Regions from separate parts of the Homo sapiens genome. Here region 1 is linked to region 2. The links are contacts of gene promoters, found by promoter capture Hi-C in blood cells and fetal thymus (Javierre and others, 2016). All regions are on one chromosome and are shown on one strand. The core of a region is centred on a gene start or on the middle of the fragment in contact, and the rest is flanking DNA. Distances in the headings are between cores, read along the strand shown.

Region 1 (4,333 bases), core at 1,203-3,702, 2.1 Mb after region 2:
TATTGAAAGCTAGAAGGGAGATGAATCAAGATGCAATTGCCTTAGCAGACTTGAAAAGTAGGAATCCCAAGCAGGCCATGAAGCAACCTGATACACACAGTGAAACCCTGTATAAGGCTCAGGAATTGGAAACACCACGTAAAGCTGAAGAGAGCATGATGTGAGCTATAAATACAGGCGGAATGGTATAAAGTCTGTTTAAGAATGAATCAGATGCTGAGATTCCCTTTGCTATCCCATCAAAAACCCAGAGATTTAGTCCTGAAAGACAGCAAAACGCTGATTCTCTAGCTAGGAGGACAGCAGGCCCTCTTAAGGATGAAGGTGTCATGTTGAAAAAGGGGAAAAGAAAATTAGAGGACTAACATCTGAATAACTGAAGCTCACTAAAAAGAAAATGGAGGAAATAAGTAACTCAAGTTGCTTGGAGTTCTGACTCTAAGCTCAGTGCTATTATAATCTTTTAGGCTTACTGGTATATTTGATTCATGTTAACTGTAAAATGACATTTTCTAAGTTTCACAAATATTGGGGTTAGTCAAAGGGACTTTGTTCAGGTGATTAAGGGTGGGGCTTGCATTACCCCTCTCCTAAGCGATCATTCCAAAATGACTGGCAGGACTAAAGAATTATGTTTAAAAAACAAAAAAACCCAAAGAATGGATTATCTGTAAAAGCTATGCAATGACGTGCCTGTTAGAGCTCACTGACCACACCTTAAGTTGTCTAAGAGATGAGGCTATAACTAGCTAAACTCTAATTGGCTAAGGCACCAAAGCCAGAAAATAGCCCATAACATGCAAATATACAGACATAAAATCAACTGTAAGTGCTGGGCACAGCTGCTCATGCCTGTAATCCCAGCTACTTGGGAGGCAGAGGCAGGAAGATCACTTTAGCTCAGGAGTTCAGAGCTGCTGTGCGCTATGATTGTGTCACTGCACTCCAGCCTGGGGGAAGAAGTGAGACTTCATCTCAAAAAAAAAAAAAAGATCAGCTGTAGAAGAAAAAATAATGTCAGGGTTACCTGTGGAGTCTGGGGGTAGACCCACTATCACACCTAGACAGGGATACAAACCATGAGAGGCTTCTCTTCTAAGTGGGCCGTTTCAGTCCAAGTTGCTGACTTGGACAGCAACTTGGACTGAATAAACACAGGCAACTGAGTTTAGCATTAAGCTTTCAGAACCTTCAACTGACAACTCAACGGCTGTTTCTAAATCTCAGAACATTTAAATCAGAATCTAGGTAGCACGTGGGCACCTACGTAGTTTTAAAAGCTTTCCAAGTGATTCAACTCCAAGTGAATCAGAGTGGAGCATCGTTGCCTTAGTCATGGCATCTTTCAAATTCGTTAGTACATTTTTACATAAAAATAAACATCAAACAAAAGAAGAACAACTTTTTGGTAAGAGGGTGTCTATTCTTTCCTTTCCTTTAGTGTCCGCAGATCTTTCCTCCTGCTGTTTTCTTGTCTACTCTTGTTCTTGAACACCCCCTCTTATTTTTATGTCTTTAGAAAGTGCCTGGCACAGTATTTCAGACAGTTAAAATACTGTATCAACAAAGGACCCATAGATACTGTATTAATTTTAAAAGATGTGTAGTGAATATGATTCAATGAGTAAAATAATCCAGCTGGGGCGTGGGAGGAACGGATAATAAAACAAATAAGAGAACGGAAAAACAAAATTAGGAATTGTTTCTGGTAGACAGCTACTGCGGGCGTGGAGATCTAAACATGATACCAAATTGGGCGGAGGGGGAGGGAGTGAGGAAGGAATGGGCAGAGTGGCGGAATGGCCTGGCGAGGGCGATTTCCTGAAGGCTTTCAGGTTACAACTAAGGGATACCGGGAAAAGAACACCGAGCCCTCGTCCCGTATCTATCTAAACTAGCCGTGTTAACTTTAAGTCAATCTCCTCTCTGAACCAGATATTCCTCCTATCTAAAGGGAGGAGCCTGGCCTTAACATCTCTTTCCAAGTCTAGCTCTAATTCTGTAAACAGGGGATCAAACAGATCTCCTTTCTTCAGAAAAGGCCCCAGACGAACCCGAAGCAGGTCCTCGAGCTGCGAGCCACTCTCCACTTGCCACTCAACGTAGTCAGCCAGAGGGACGGATGTGCCACCAAGCACCACCTTCTTTCTAACGCCTCATCACCCCAGCCACGCACTCCGGCGCGGCGCCCAGTCCCGAGCGGTTCTCGGAAGTTTCCCACTCCTCCCCTAATCGCCCTCCACGCACGCCGGATCACGACCGGAACGTGGACAACCAGTGGTTGTTCCTCCCCTAAAGCACAGCATAAATTTGGAGAGATGCATCTAAACTGCGTGTGGGTTCGGGCTCTTTTAGGTGAATAGGGCTCGGCGGATCGACTTCCTCGATTATCTCCGTGCCCTGGACCCGCCCCCTCCGCCTGGCGCCAGGCCGCCGAGCGCCGATCGGCTCGATGAGCGGAGGCGCTGCTGCGGCGCTGCGGCCGACGCCGGGTCCGCACCAACTGTCTCCCCCTCCCAGCTTCTTACCTCGGCTTCCTACTCCTTCCCCCGCCCGCCCAGCACCGCCAGCCCGGGAGAGCTGCCGGGAGTTCCCCGGGAGCCTCAGGTACTGGCGCTGGCCTGTTCGCAGCGGGAGGGGCTGGTGTGAGGAGGAAGGAAACGAAGAAGACGCCCCTGCCTTGCCGCCCCCCGACGTCCTAGTCGGGCTGGTCGGCGGGCCTCGGGGATCTAGGAAGGGACCCCGGAGTGGGAAAAGGTTGGGGCCGGGGGTGCCGTGAGGAAGGAAGACGAGGACAGGGGTATGCGGACGAGGAGCAGTTGAGGGAGAGAAGAATTGGAATTGAGGGGTACTCTGGGGTGATGGGAAGAGAACAGTACCATGGATGGGGAAGGTTTGTTAAGAGTGGGATGTAGTGAGGAATTCCAGGGGGTACAATGGGGCAGGAAGGGCCAGCGTTAGGAGCAGATATATCGTGGGACGTGGCCTGGTGTGACAGATTGGGTGTGGGGGGTGAACGGAGCTGCCTGAAATTGTGTATTTAAAGGGCCCGGGGGAAAGAGCGCCAACCCTGCTGTGTTTATAATGACCGGAAGGTGGGGGTGAATCGTTACACTTGACAGGTTTTGCAAATAATATCTCCGGTCTGTGTCCATCCAAGTCACTTTATTTCTGTGAAACTGCATCAAGCAAGAAGGCTGATGACAGACAAGGAAGACGAATCAGAAAGAGAATGGAGGCTGGGAAAAGGAGAGCCTTTGCCCAGATTCAAAGCTATTGACTAGATAACGTACTACTTACAAAAACGCACACATAGACATTTAAGTATATGCTGATGTATAAGAAGCATACGGTGATGTGACTCATTTGAGTGAATTGTATAGTGGTGGTCTATCCTCAATGTGGAAGTACATGATGGCTCTCTTATTTACATGTATACCTAGTCACAAACAGCTGAATTCACATGTCTTTTTTTGTAGGAGAAATCTTAGGCAGACTATATCCTAGTCTACTTTCTGAGCATGATTTATTTCTACTAGTTGTTTGATACACATATCAGTTACTAATAATCAGTTGCAAATAACATCAAAGTTCATCAAGGTAGCTAATTAATCTGCCTACTGCTTTGCTGATGGGCTATTTGTTGCACATGGTTTCTTGGGATTAAGAGACCTGAATATGGTGTTTGCTCATCCTTAAGATTGTAGTTTTACTGTATGTCTTATAAAGGCATTATATAAGTCTGCCCGTTGTTTGCTTTGGGATGTTGAGGCAGCCTCATTGCAGGGGTTAAAATCTAAATACAGATAATAGTTAAAAGCACAAGTTCTTCAGTAATTTGCCTTGTCATCTGTTTTTCCATGCATTCTGTTACATTTCTGCATGAATGAAGTATTCTGACATCAAAGTATGAGGAATAAAAGGGCCAGATGTATGTGACAGAAATATTGTGGAACCAAGAACTCAAGAGCTGTTACTCAGGCAGCAAGAATTTGGTTTTTGTTACAAGTGAATAATTTCTGATTTGGAAGCATTTCTTATCAAAGAAAAGTGTGTCCTTTGGTTTTGACAAGCAGCTGACTTAAAACATTACTTTTATTTGGTTCGTGAAGCCAGATCCTGGGATTATTCTTTTTTAAGTGTATATCATTAACAAACAAACTGATGTCTAACTATACCTAATTTAAAGGTCTAAGTGTTTCTTCTTATGGAAAAGGAAGCAGGACTATTGGGTTGTTAGCAGGAAGTGAGTCTTTCTAGAACAGAATTCTGTAAACCTGATGGGCAACTAATTGAACAAATGATTAAAACTGATAATGCACAGCCATTGATT
Region 2 (4,565 bases), core at 272-2,771:
GGAGTGCAGTGGCGCGATCTCGGCTCACTGCAAGCTCCGCCTCCGAGGTTCACGCCATTCTCCTGCCTCGGCCTCCCCAGCAGCGGGGACTACAGGCGCCCGCCACCACGCCCGGCTAATTTTTTTTTTATTTTTAGTAGAGACGGGGTTTCACCGTGTTAGCCAGGATGGTCTCGATCTCCTGACCTCGTGATCCGCCCTCCTCGACCTCCCAAAGTGCTGGGATTAACGACGTGAGCCACCGCGCCCGGCCGAAGAAGGATTTTTTTAAGGCATCAACCAAAAGCAGAGTATTCTATATATTACGTGGTTACCTTTTTGTGGTCTTTCTAAAAACTCAGGGAAAAAAAACTGCCGTATAATGAATATAATGAGAGTGAATTTCGCTTCTACACATAAGGCTATCCAGTTAAGAACAGGGGAAAAGCCGGGCGCGGTGGCTCACGCCTGTAATCCCAGCACTATGGGAGGCGGAGGCGGGTGGATCACGAGGTCAGGAGATCGAGACCATCCTGGCTAACACAGTGAAACCCCGGCTCTACCAAAAATACAGAAAAATTAGCCGGGCGTGGTCGCGGGCGCCTGTAGTCCCAGCTACTCGGGAGGCTGAGGCAGGAGAATGGCGTGAACCCGGGAGGCGGAGCTTGCAGTGAGCGGAGATCGCGCCACTTCACTCTAGCCTGGGCAGCAGAGCGAGACTCCGTCTCAAATAATAATAATAATAATAATAATAATAATAATAATGGGGGAAAAAATGAAAAATGGAATAAAAGCTCTCCGGCCGTAGATAACAGGCTGAAGTACTGTTCATAGGATAGATCTCTTCGCTATTTTCACCTGGAATTCTCCTCTGTGAACTCTGCAACAGACTTCTGTAGAGAGAACCCCAGATCGGTTGGGTGGTCCTTCTGATGGGTCTGGATAAACCCCTGTACAGCTGACTTAACCAAGAAGGGAAGTACATGTTGGAGCCACACGATGGCGAAAAACAATCACGAAATCCCACGCTGCCGGTAGTTAAAAGTCAGTTTTGGAAATACACAGAAATCCCTTAAAATTCCAGGAGTTCCCACTCTCTTCTCGAATATTTAAGGCCTCCTCCGCACAACATTGGAGTACACGTGTCTAGAAACAAGACAAATCTCCAAGGTCTCTGGGGTGCTTGCTGGGGTGGAGATAAGGGAAAGACCTCTCCCTGAGTCTTAAAGCATCAGTCTGCACTTCTACTCAACAAGTCGGCAGCCAAAAGTGACGACGAGAGAGCGACTCCACGTAGCGGCGCCAGGCGCGAGCCCAAGACAACCAGAGGCGGTCACAAGGTATACGCCCTTCTCCTCTTTCCACGCTTCTCGAGAGGCTCCCGCGGCCAGAACCGGAAAACAAGGAGTAACAGTCGCGTTTCAAATCTCGCAGACCTGCTGGCCGATTTCGAGTCTTCTGAAAGAGGAAGGCGAGCAAAGCCAAAATTCTCCCAGAGCGCGAACCCAAACACAGATCGCCGCTGGGGTCCAAGCGCCCTTCAACTCCGCCCGCTAGTGCCCAAGATTACCGGGAAGGAATTCAACGAATCAGTGGTGAGGTGCCGCCGCCATGCCTACTACGGGCGGAAATTTGAGAGAAAGCTTCGCACCGGTAGGAAAACTGAGGAGCAACCGAGCACGATTGGAAAGGTTGACGATAGTGGTTAAGTGGCTCGGCCTTGCCCTCAGTTAAAATGGCAATTTTAGTTGCTTCACTGATACGGAATCGGCGAGGCGCCAAGGAGGCTTCCTGCGTGGGGCCGCAGAGCGAGTCGGGAAACGATTTTAAACTGAAGAGGCGGCGGAGGGCCGAATTCCCTTTTCTCAACGGCTTGATTTCAGAGCTGGGCTGGTCTCTGACAGGCTCAGCTGGAGAGGGACGGGTTGGGACGCACTGTCCTTTTGCCCTTCCCCCTCCGCGAGCAGAAGCTGACTCCGCAGGAGCGAGGGTCGCAGAGCTGGGTGAGCGGAAATGTCCCTCCCAGAGTGAAGTCGCAGGGCCCGCCCCGCGTCTGAGGGAGCGGAGGTCTTCCTGGGTGCGTTTGTGTCTCTTGTGAACCCACTTGTGGAGCGAGAGGGAATTTGGGAGGGCCAGGGGTTAGTCTGGCCTCTGTCTTAGCTGTCATTTTGGCGGTTTTTTTTTTTTTTCTTCAGGGGATTTCAGTCTCCACATAGTTTTGGAGCCGGACTTTTGAAGAATGATTCGTGAATCCGGAATGGGTGACAGCGTCATCACGGCATTTTATTGGTAAAGATGCTTTGTATTGGTCCCGGACCTGCTTTAACTTTGTATTTGCCCTGTTGTGTGGTCATTATCTTACAATACTTGCGTGTTGAGGTGTGTTTAAACACTACGTGCTTAACACTGGCTAAGTATTGGCATTGGGGCGGTTGGATTTAGGTATTGGTGGCAATGTAGAAAAGTGATCAAGTCAGAGCCCCTTCACGGACTAATCACAAGAGAAACAACAAAGCTTTACTTGTGTGCTGTGAACCACAACTGCAAGTGGAATTGTCAAGAGAACTAGCCCTGCCAAGCTCAGGAAAACTTCTGAGGAGATGGCACATGGAAAATGGATAAGATTTACTGAGACAAACGGGAGTAGAGAAGTGTTTTTAATTGGCGATAAGGTGAATAAAAAGGCAGGGAGAACAGTAGAGTGATCATCTGTCTAGAGTAGGGGGTGCATGTTTGGGTATAGGGCTGTCATTTAACCTCTTAAAGAATTGTCTACTGGAACTTTCTTCACTCCCATCCCCCCACCCCCCAATGTTGTATACAAAACCTTAGAGGAAGTGTATGCAGAATGTTGGATTTTGGAAAGGCTAATGTCGATGGATCTTGGGGAAGAACTGAAGTAGTAGAAAATGAACCTGGATAGGATCAGATAATAAGATCAAATACAGTAGTGCCTTGAAAGCCAGACAGGAATTCTGATTTGACTTCATATAGATGTGTGGGAACTGTTATGGGATCTCAAGCAAGGTAATGATAAAAGTGGTGACAATGAAAGACTGATGATGGATTAGGGAAAGGGGCTAAGATTGGGAACAAGATAAGTAGCTATAATTGAGAATGAAAGTGAAGCCCACATCTAAGAGGACAAGTGTATATCTTTTTAAGAAATATGTCAGAGGCCAGGTGTGGTGGCTTATGCCTGTAATCCAGCACTTTGGGAGGCCAAGGCAGGCGGATCACCTGAGGTCAGGAGTTCAAGACCAGCCTGGCCAACATGGAGAAACCCCATCTCTACCAAAAAATACAAAAATTAGCCAGGCGTGTTGGTGCATACCTGTAGTCCCAGCTACTGGGGAGGCTGAGGCAGGAGAATCACTTGAACCTGGGAGGTGGAGGTTGCAGTGAGCCAAGATTGCACCACTGCACTCCAGCCTGGGAGACAGAGTGAGACTCTGTCTTCAAAAAAGAAATATGTGAGAATTTGATGATAAAGTTAACAAAGTTAACTTTTTAGATGTAAAGGTGATGTTGAAGGAAGAGTAAAAGATGATGAAAGTTTTTTTAGTGGGGAAAGAAAATGAAAAGGAAGAATGGAATTATTACTGAGCAAAACAGAGTACAGTAGTTGGCAAAGAAAGATTGAATAAGATGTGAAGCGATGATTAGTTTTGAACTTAATGAGTTTGACGGAGGTTGGAAATGCAGGACTGGGTTGCAGCTGTAATGGTCTGAAGACAGAGATTTAGGAGTCATATAGAATGATTATTTTCCTATGTAGAATGAATGATTTTCAGAATCTGGGGCCACCTACTATTGGAACATGAGGAAAAAAAAAGAATCAGTAAATAAATTGGAACTATAAAAAGTAAGGAGGAGAAAAGCCCCTAAAAAATGGAATGTCAGAGGAAACAAGGTCCCAGAAAGTTTAGAGGAGTAAGGATGAACAAACTTGATGAACAAAGTATTTGGCCATGGTTTTGGCAAAAACAATGATCTTCGAAAGTACAGTTTCTTTGTAGTGATAGATGGAAGAAAGAGATTGCTGAAGATTTCTAGTAAAATATTTATTAGTAACTGGAGGCAATAGGTGTAGACGACGTTTCCAGGAGATTGGTCTCAGAAGGAATGAGACGAATTGGATTTAAACACAAATTTTTAATGTTAGAAATACTAGAATATGCTTGGCAGTGAAAGAAAAGGATCCTGTATAGGAGTGATTAAAGATGATAGAGATGTGAAGTACAGCCTGGTTGTGGTGGTGCACGCTTGTAGTCCTAGCTACTCGAGAGGCTGAGGTGGGAGGATCGCCTGAGCCCAGCAGGTGGAGGCTGCAGTGATATCAGGCCACTGCACTCCAGCCTGGACAACAGAGTGAGACCCTGTCTCAAAAAAAAAAAAAAAAAAAAAAAAGGCTGAAGTACACAAAGGAGATGGTGTCCAGGGGAGATACAAGTAAGAGGACCTCTTTGCTTCCGATTGGAAGGAAGAGTATTGGGACAGTAATATATTGAGCCAAGGTATATTAATAACCTCTGGATTATTGTGCTGGGCAAAAATTACACATTCTTGAGTGTGAGATGAGAAGG

The links. Contacts are between HindIII fragments. The CHiCAGO score rates a contact against its expected background, and 5 or more counts as called.
Region 1: the fragment with the promoter of VAMP4 here is called in contact with the fragment with the promoter of DARS2 in region 2 in 7 of 17 cell types (fetal thymus, non-activated CD4 T cells, monocytes and 4 more); the score reaches 13.7 in fetal thymus.

The regions. Positions count from the first base shown.
Region 1 is chr1:171,740,184-171,744,516 of GRCh38, reverse strand. It overlaps VAMP4 (vesicle associated membrane protein 4), which reads left to right and starts at 2,452. Exons shown (of 8, transcript NM_003762.5): 1 at 2,452-2,607. The HindIII fragment of the contact is 4,907 bases long and covers 1,283-4,333 here.
Region 2 is chr1:173,821,629-173,826,193 of GRCh38, reverse strand. It overlaps DARS2 (aspartyl-tRNA synthetase 2, mitochondrial), which reads right to left and starts at 1,521. Exons shown (of 17, transcript NM_018122.5): 1 at 838-1,521. The coding sequence starts at 964. CENPL (centromere protein L) reads left to right here and starts at 1,311. Exons shown (of 6, transcript NM_001387287.1): 1 at 1,311-1,982; 2 at 2,175-2,268. RefSeq lists enhancers at 1-139, 781-1,298, 1,005-1,564, 1,299-1,817, 1,795-2,034. The HindIII fragment of the contact is 2,471 bases long and covers 1-1,624 here.